Linked DNA regions of Homo sapiens: all the other regions are linked to region 3. Evidence: promoter capture Hi-C in 16 types of primary human blood cells and fetal thymus (Javierre and others, 2016). All regions are on one chromosome and are shown on one strand. Each heading gives the region's core, a stretch centred on a gene start or on the middle of the fragment in contact. The rest is flanking DNA. Distances are from core to core; before and after follow the strand shown. Region 1 holds the start of MZF1 (myeloid zinc finger 1). Region 2 holds the start of ZNF446 (zinc finger protein 446). Region 3 holds the start of ZNF586 (zinc finger protein 586).

The links. The method cuts DNA at HindIII sites, captures the fragments that hold promoters and counts their contacts. A CHiCAGO score of 5 or more calls a contact.
Region 1: the fragment with the promoter of MZF1 here is called in contact with the fragment with the promoter of ZNF586 in region 3 in 2 of 17 cell types (naive B cells and total B cells); the score reaches 5.7 in naive B cells.
Region 2: a contact is called between the fragment with the promoter of ZNF446 here and the fragment with the promoter of ZNF586 in region 3, in 1 of 17 cell types (neutrophils). The highest score is 5.1, in neutrophils.

Annotation. Positions count from the first base shown.
Region 1 is chr19:58,571,953-58,574,652 of GRCh38, forward strand. It overlaps MZF1 (myeloid zinc finger 1), which reads right to left and starts at 1,383. Exons shown (of 6, transcript NM_198055.2): 1 at 1,103-1,383. It overlaps MZF1-AS1 (MZF1 antisense RNA 1), which reads left to right. Exons shown (of 6, transcript NR_027334.2): 4 at 1-3; 5 at 626-871; 6 at 965-2,700. RefSeq lists enhancers at 88-949, 950-1,809, 1,178-1,267, 1,328-1,757. The HindIII fragment of the contact is 12,442 bases long and covers 1-2,700 here.
Region 2 is chr19:58,475,099-58,477,798 of GRCh38, forward strand. ZNF446 (zinc finger protein 446) reads left to right here and starts at 1,254. Exons shown (of 7, transcript NM_017908.4): 1 at 1,254-1,406; 2 at 2,081-2,462; 3 at 2,539-2,700. The coding sequence starts at 2,121. It overlaps ZNF324 (zinc finger protein 324), which reads left to right. Exons shown (of 4, transcript NM_014347.3): 4 at 1-338. RefSeq lists enhancers at 343-432, 493-552, 793-1,042, 864-1,158, 1,313-1,512. The HindIII fragment of the contact is 6,419 bases long and covers 1-1,946 here.
Region 3 is chr19:57,768,415-57,771,114 of GRCh38, forward strand. It overlaps ZNF586 (zinc finger protein 586), which reads left to right and starts at 1,262. Exons shown (of 3, transcript NM_017652.4): 1 at 1,262-1,464. The coding sequence starts at 1,429. RefSeq lists enhancers at 986-1,525, 1,247-1,496. The HindIII fragment of the contact is 1,086 bases long and covers 1,180-2,265 here.

The sequences.
Region 1 (2,700 bases), core at 133-2,632, 800 kb after region 3:
CAGGTTTGTTCCACCATGCCAGCCCACAGGCTGTTTTTTAGGACTAGAAGACACTTCTCTCCCCTGTATCCTTCCCTTCTTCTACATGTGCAACCTCATTCCTGCGCTACAGCTCTCTCTTTACCAGGTGGATGGCACCTATACACCTACAGCCTGGGCATCAGCATCACTGCTGGCGTCTCCCCCTACCCAACGCCAGCCCTTACTTCACCTTCTATTCTCTCATCTACTTCGATGTGGCTCCTCATTTGGGCCCCACCATCATTCCCCTCCCTGCTTGGAAGCCTCACTCCACCTAATCCTCCATGTCAACCTGTGCAGTCACTTGTATGGCTCAGCTCCCAGGCAGCACCCTCTCTCCCTACTCAGCCCCATCTTCTAAGCCCAACATCACACTACGCAATGCCCCATCTCAGCTTCCTGATTTAGCTGGGGTTGGAAGGGGATGGGGGAGCTTCGCAATGGGTGGGGGGGCGGCAAAGGCTCCAAGACTGCCGGAACAGGAGCCTGCAAGGAAGTCCCGAGACTCTGATTCCGCCCATCTTCAGATCACTGTGCCTTCGAGAACTTGTTTCCCCATTTGCAAGTGGGGCTGACCTCCCTCCTCGCGCTGTTCCTTCTGCAGCTGCGGCTTTAGGAAGGAATCTGCGTTTATGAAGGGGATGGCACCGCAGAATCATTCCCCCGTGGGTGGCATCGATTTCGAGGGCCGCCTCATCCTGGGGGCCAAGCCTCCACTCTTCAAGGTGCCAAGTCAACCTGAAACCCTGGGAGAGACTTGGGTCATAGCCAAGATGGCAGGTACCTACGGAGGGTCCCGAAATACACTTCCCAGAAGTCCAGGCGGCAACTTCCGCTCCAGGGTGCCAAGGTAGGTCCAGACGACGCCTAGGCAACCGGGGGCGGGGCTCCCAAAGCCTGTCGTCGTGGCAACGAGTAGTGATTGACAAGCCTCTCGCTCTAGCCCTGGGCGCTCCCGCAAGGACTGCCCGGATTCGTTCCCCGCGCTTCCGGTCTCACTGGGGAGCCGGAATCCCCGAGTCTGCAGCCACCGCCCCCGTCCACACGATAGCCCTCCCGGTTAAGAGGACCCCGCCCTCACCTCTGCGCTCAGCGGGCCGCTCCGCGCTCCTGAGCACGCGCAGTCTTCGACTTCCCCCTCCCGCTGGACTACGTCTCCCAGGATGCTCCGCGCACCAGCTCGAGCGCCTCCTTGCCCTTCCCCCACCCTCGTCCCCGTTTCTACACCCTCTCCTCCCTTCCCCTAGCGGTGGTCGCAATGATCAGGTCATACTCCTGGCCGCTTCTTCCCATGCTCCCCGCCTCGAATCCGTGCGTCGGCATGCGCAAGCCTCTCAGGTACAACAGACGGCAGCACCGCCTACCAGATCGCGCATGCCCCCCACCACGTTTTCCTCACTTCTCTACGGGCCTTCCTGAGATTAGCAGGATCCTGCACCAATCACGGCCGTCATTAGAACTCCGTCGGTGCCCCACCGCGTCTCCATGGCAACTCCCTACAGGAAGGGGCCTCTGCTACTTCCTAGACCGCAAAATGGAGAAAGGCTTGGCCCGATGCTTTCCGGCAGATGTAGTCAGCAGGCCCTTCGTGTGTACGTGCGCGCGCGGCGCGATGACGTTCCTCTGTGATCATGGGCGAGGGGCGGGCCCTGAACGTCTCCATGGTAACCTGGGGACACGACTCGACATCGCCTGGGTAACCCGGAGACGCGGCGGGCGTTGAAAATGCAATGGGGCATGTGGGATGAAGAGGTGGGGAAGGGTACTGGGGCAGAGAGATGCCGATCGATAGAAACAGCGAGGAGAGACGGAGAGAGACCAGAGACTCAAGGGCAAAGAGAGACGAAGGACCGGCGGGAGGAAGAGAGAGAGAGACAGAGAGACAGACTCACAGACTGGGAGGACCGGAGACTCGACGCGAGGAGAGACAGTGAAAATAAGTGAACAAACATAGAGACACGGGTCCAAGTTATAAGAGGGCTGAGTGGATCAGAGGGTCAGGGCCGGGCAAACAGGTGTCAGAACAGTTAGCAAGAGAGAGGCAGATCAGAAAGGGATGCAGATGAAAGAGACACAAAGAAGGAAACGCAGAATGGGTTCACAGAGACAAGAAATGCAGATATCCAGACTCAAGAGGTAGACAAGAAGGGAGAGGGACAGAAACAAGAAGGGAGAAAAGGGACAGAAATTAGAGATACAGTAAGATGGATTGACAGTTTTCGAAGACCTAGAGAAAGATGACAGCACGAAGAGAGACAGGGAGAATCCGAGGTAAAACTGTTAGGAAAACTTAGGAGTCCAGATGCTGTCCAGTTATATGCTACCCTGTACAGGTTGATAGGTTGCAAATGCTTTCTGTCCAGTGTATCGCTTTGTAGCTCACTAAGCAGTTTTGTATCCAACTTTGTGCTTTTATTTCAGTGTTTTTCTTTTTCTTTCTTTCTTTTTTTTTTTTTTTTTTTTGACGGAGTCTCGCTGTTGCCAGACTGGAGTGCAGTGGCACGATCTCGGCTCACTGCAACCTCCGTCTCCCAGGTTCAAGCGATTCTCCTGCCTCAGCCTCCCGAGTAGCTGGGACTGCAGGCTGCTCCACCACACCCGGCTGATTTTTGTATTTTTAGTAGAGATGGGGTTTTACCATGTTGGCCAGACTGGTCTTGACCTCCAGACCTCTGGTGA
Region 2 (2,700 bases), core at 4-2,503, 710 kb after region 3:
CACCTCATCCCCAAAAACAACCTGAGGAGGCCGTTGGAAAGCTCCGAGTTGACAAGTCTCATCCACGCACATGCTCGGTGCTTCCAATCGGTGATCAAGACCACTGCTCTTCATCCAGAGCAGGCAGCAGGGATTCCCAGGTATCCAAAGAAACCAAAACAGGCGGTGTAATTTAGGACTGACTAAGTAATGGCTCGGCCACTTTTAAGTGTGGAAGCAAAACTGACCCCACAGATTTAGAAAACTGTAACACTGCTTATTGGGAGAAACTAGTGTCACCCTGGCTAGTTCTGCTCCCCAAATTCAAAGGTAAATAAACGGTTGAGCATGTCCGATCAGCCTGGAGGGAAACCTCCACCCCCGACTTTGTAGGACTGACATCTGAAGACGTCAGAGACTGCGGTCACAACCGTCGGTACCTCCTTAGGGCGCTTAACAGAGGTCAAAGATGGCCCTCGCACCCTCCTGGCGGGAGAAAGCCCAGGCTCAGGGTGGTCTTCTACACCACCGCCTCTCCCGGGTCCACTTGGAAGCGAGTCCCAGCGAACTACTCGACCTAGGAAACCACTGGGCCGCCACTTCCAGCCTCTTCGGAAGTCGAGGCAACGCTCCTGAACGTTGCCACGGGAACAGCTGGAGGCGGGCGGATATGCCCTAGCGTTATCTAGGGGCTGGCCCGGGGAATGGCGTGGGGGCGGCGGGGCCAAGCAAGCGCCACCTCTGATTGGGCAAAACCCCCTCCCCTCACCTGCCAATAGAAACCGGCCCACTGTACAGACGCGCAAGTTTATAACCCGGGAAGAGCTGCTCTCAGAGCGGAGGGAGACCATATAACCCTGGGACTCTGCCGTACCTCCTAGAGGAACAGAGCGCCTCTCAGGCGTCAGAGGCTGCTGCAAATGCGGGTCAGCGGGTCACGGTCGCGCCTGTCTTGCTGATGCTCATGGGAAATGTAGTTCAAAGGGCATGGGCGGTGCCTTCGGTGCAGGCGAGAGATTGGTCAGCGCGGCGTCGCCGGGGCAACACCCGGCTGAGGCGCCCCGCGTTGTGCGGCGCCACATCCGGGAAGCGGCCTCCAAGCAACCGCTCCGGGTTGAGGTGAGCGCAGGCTGCCAGAGTGGGCGCAGCCTTTCCACCCCGTGGGAGGGCTTGGGGTCGCCCTCTGGGGCCTGAACGGCTCCTGCTGTCGGCGCCCTGGAGGGCCCGCCCACTTCCCGACAGGCCGCGCGCGTCACCTCAGCCTTCGCTCAGGCCTTTCCTACCCTCAACGCCGTTCCGGGGGGCCGGGCCTGGCAAGTCCTCTTGGAACGCCTCCCTCTTGCCTTCCCCTTTTGGGGACAGATCCCGAAGTTCGAGCATCCCTCGGATAGGCCGGGTGTCAGGCCTGGTCTCTCAGGCCCGTCCAGGTGGGCGTCTTTCACTGCAGACCTTCAGGGCCGGGATGCTGTGGCCATCCCTCGACTCCGCGCAACGTGGAGCTTTGGCCCCGTTTTTCTTGGCCTTTGCTTTTCGTTTTCACATGCACGGGCCCCGGCAGTGTGAGTCGCCCACGGCTCGCTGTGGTCAGCGAGCACGATGTCCACGTGCCCCCTCCCCAGAGCCATTCCTAAAGGAGGTCCCACCCAGTCAACCTCCCCGAGATTGTGGAGGGCGACTCGTCCCCGTACATTACAGCCTGGCCCCACCTTCTACCCGCCCACCCTGGTCCACTCTCCTCGCACCTCGGCTAGACACTGTGGCTCCTCAGCCTGGCGCTGGAACTCTGTGATGACTGTCTTTCTCCACCTCTTTAGCGTCATCTCCCAGCAGTCCCCTGCTGGACCCAACTGTTTGCAATTTCCAGGAAGCTCCCTGGACACCTTGCGTCCAAGCATTTGTCCCTGAGGCTTCCTCCTGCTCTCATTTGCCATCATTGTTTGGGTCCTGTGACCCTCCTCCTTCCATGAAGCTTTCTTGGCCTTATCTCTTCTGGCCTCAGAGTACACTTGGTCCTGGTCTCAGCCCCCTGGGCTGAGCCTGGTGTCTGCCTTCCCCTGGCCAGATTCTCTTGGCTGACATTCCGACCCTTCCTTTTCTGTAGGCCCATCTTGACGATTCCAAGACCACCCCCTTGAGCAAGAATGCCATCCCCTCTGGGTCCCCCATGCCTGCCCGTCATGGACCCAGAGACCACCCTTGAGGAGCCTGAGACTGCCCGCCTCCGCTTCCGAGGGTTCTGCTACCAGGAGGTGGCAGGTCCCCGAGAAGCCCTGGCCCGGCTGCGTGAGCTGTGTTGCCAGTGGCTGCAGCCTGAGGCACACTCCAAGGAGCAGATGCTGGAGATGCTGGTGCTGGAGCAGTTCCTGGGCACACTGCCTCCCGAGATCCAGGCCTGGGTGCGCGGTCAGCGGCCAGGCAGTCCTGAGGAGGCCGCTGCCCTAGTCGAAGGACTGCAGCATGACCCTGGGCAACTGTTGGGCTGGGTGAGTGTGGCTGGCATCAGCTTCTTGGAGGGATAGACCCTGGCTAGAGCCATTGTGACCTACCTCTTCTCCTCAGATCACAGCCCATGTCCTGAAGCAGGAGGTGCTCCCTGCAGCCCAGAAGACAGAGGAACCACTTGGGAGCCCCCACCCCTCAGGGACAGTGGAGTCCCCTGGGGAAGGTCCCCAGGACACCAGAATAGAGGGGTCTGTCCAGCTCAGCTGCAGTGTGAAGGAG
Region 3 (2,700 bases), core at 12-2,511:
GACGAGCCGCAGACAAAACCTCTCAGACACCGAGTTGCAGAAGGAAGGGCTTTATTCAGCTGGGAGCATTGGCCAGCTACTGTCTCAAAATCTGAGCTCCCGGAGTGCACAATTTCTGTCCCTTTTAAGGGCTCACAACACTAAAGATTTCACATGAAAGGGTCGTGATTGATTTGAGCAAGCAAGGGGTATGTGACAGGGGCTGCATGCACCGGTGGTCAGGGAGGAACAGAACAGGGCAGGGAGTTTCACAATGTTCTTCTATACAATCTAAGGAATCTATGAATAACATCGGCTTCTAAATCATAAGTTGATTTTTAACTACTGGGTTTAGGCCAGGCGGGCCTAGGCCTGGTTTCGGGCCTGGCGCGGGGTTGCCTGTCTTTGGTTTTACTTCCTTGTTGTTTTTACTGAATATAAAACAATGTGAGAGGGTCTCTCTCTTCTCTCATGCATACATACTCCATGTTTGAACACCGCAGCCATTGTCCTGTAACATAATAGCATTTGTCTCATTAGCTTTTTGATGTTGATATCAGATTTCTAGAGGAATCTGTAGGTTAAAGATATAAATAAAAGTGTTGCTAATGGGCTGAGAACGGTGGTTCACGCCTGTAATCCTAGCACTTCGGTAGACCATTGCAGGCAGATCACTTGAGGCCAGAAGTTCGAGACCAGCCTGGCCAAAATGAGGAAACCCCGTCTCTACTAAAAATACAAAAATTAGCAGGGTATGGTGGCACACGCCTGTAATCCCAGCTACTCGGATGGTTGAGGCACGAGAATCGCTTGAACCCGGGAGGCATAGGCTGCAGTGAGCCAAGATCACACCACTGCACCCCAGCCTGAGTGACAGAGAGAACTATGTCTTAAAAAAAAGACAAAAAAAAAAAAAAAAGGAAGAAGCCGAGCATCACAAATTCTGAAATAAGAAGTCTCCAAACACGCGGGCAATCAGTTGCACACAGTACCCCCAGAAATGTGCGTATGGCCTCTTCTAAGATGGGAGACCCTCCTCCGCATCTGGACCTGGAGTCGCCATTTCCTAGCGCCCCTCGCAGTGGAGCTTGCCCCTTTCTTCGGAAAGTCGGAAGAAAGCCACCTTAAGCGCTGCCCATGTCTGGGAACTACATTACCCAGAATCCGCCCTGCGAAATGGTAACGTGGCTGAGCCAATGAAGCTTCAGAGAAGCCGTGCCATTGCCGGGGCACGTAAAGTCAAGCCAGGACTTCCGGCGTCCTAGCCGTGGCAGCCATTTTGGCCTGTCAGGTCCATCCGGCGATGCTGGGTCTGGACGAGCTCGGGAGGAGTGGTTGTGGCCATTGCACACAGGCGGATCTGAGGTTCGGCGACGCCGCTGGTCGCGACCCGGGACAGGACAACGACAGGAACACCGCCGAGCCCGCGTTCCCCCCCCGCCCAGAGTCATGGCGGCAGCAGCCGCTCTGAGGGCGCCTGCTCAGGTGAGCGCTGCGACCTCCGGGCCTTACCCACCCTACCCACCCAGACCCTGAGGCCCCTGATCGTGAGGGCCGCCTCCTCGCGTCCCTGCAGCCCAGGCCTCTGTCAGGGACGGAGAGGCGCCGGCGGGTGGGATCCCTGTTTCCGACACCCAGTTGATGCGGTCGGCAGAGCGAGACTGGCGGAGGGCAAAGGCCTGCAGGCGCGACTGAGGCAGGAGGATGCGGAACACGGGGACATCGTGTGTCTACTGGGAAAGAAGTGTGATACGGAGTTATTTCTTTTTTTTTTTTTTTTTGAGACGGAGTCTCACTCTGTCGCCCAGGCTGGAGTGCAGTGGCGCGATCTCGGCTCACTGCAAGCTCCACCTCCCCGGTTCAAGCGATTCTCCTGCCTCAGCCTCCCGAGTAGCTGGGATTACAGGCATGCGCCACCACGGGGTTTCACCATGTTGGCTAGGCTGGCCTCGAACTCCTGACCTTAGGTGATCCGCCCACCTCGGCCTCCCAAAGTGCTGGGAATACAGGCGTGAGCCACCGCGCCTGGCCGAGGCGGAGTTGTTTCTTCAGTACCAGGCTGAGGGTTGAACTTTGACTGTGAGGACGCTAAAAGCCATGGACAGTTTTGAACAAAGGAGGAAATCTGTGTTAGAGTTGCGATTCCCAAAAGATGTTCGAAGGAAGAACAGAGTTGAAGGCAGTGATGAGGACATTGAGAGGTTGAATCATTGAGAGGTGACATTGAGCACTGGGCCACAAGATTAGAGACTCAGTCTGAAGTCATCTGGCTGCAGGGCCAAAAAAAGCTTACAGAGAAGCCTGAGTCTATCAAATCCGAGCACAGACACATTTGTGAAAGCCCTGCCTTTTGGCACACCTCATGGCTACAGAAGCACTTACAGAATCCACAGTAGGAAGTAGGGGATGCTCTAGTCCTTCACTGGTCCTCATCCTATCCCACATGTCTAGATCTTGGCATCTTTTTTTTTTTTCGGCGACGGGTTCTCACTCAACACCCAGGCTGGGTTGCGGTGACGCGATCACGGCGCAGCACGGCCTCGACCTCTCCGGGCTCAGGAGAGCCTCTCATCTCAGTCTCCCGAGTAACTGGCTTTTTGTATTTTTAGTAGAGGTGGGGTTTCACGGCCGGGCGCGGTGGCTCACGCCTGTAATCCTAGCACTTTGGGAGGCCGAGGCGGGCGGATCACGAGGTCAGGAGTTTGAGACCATCCTGGCTAA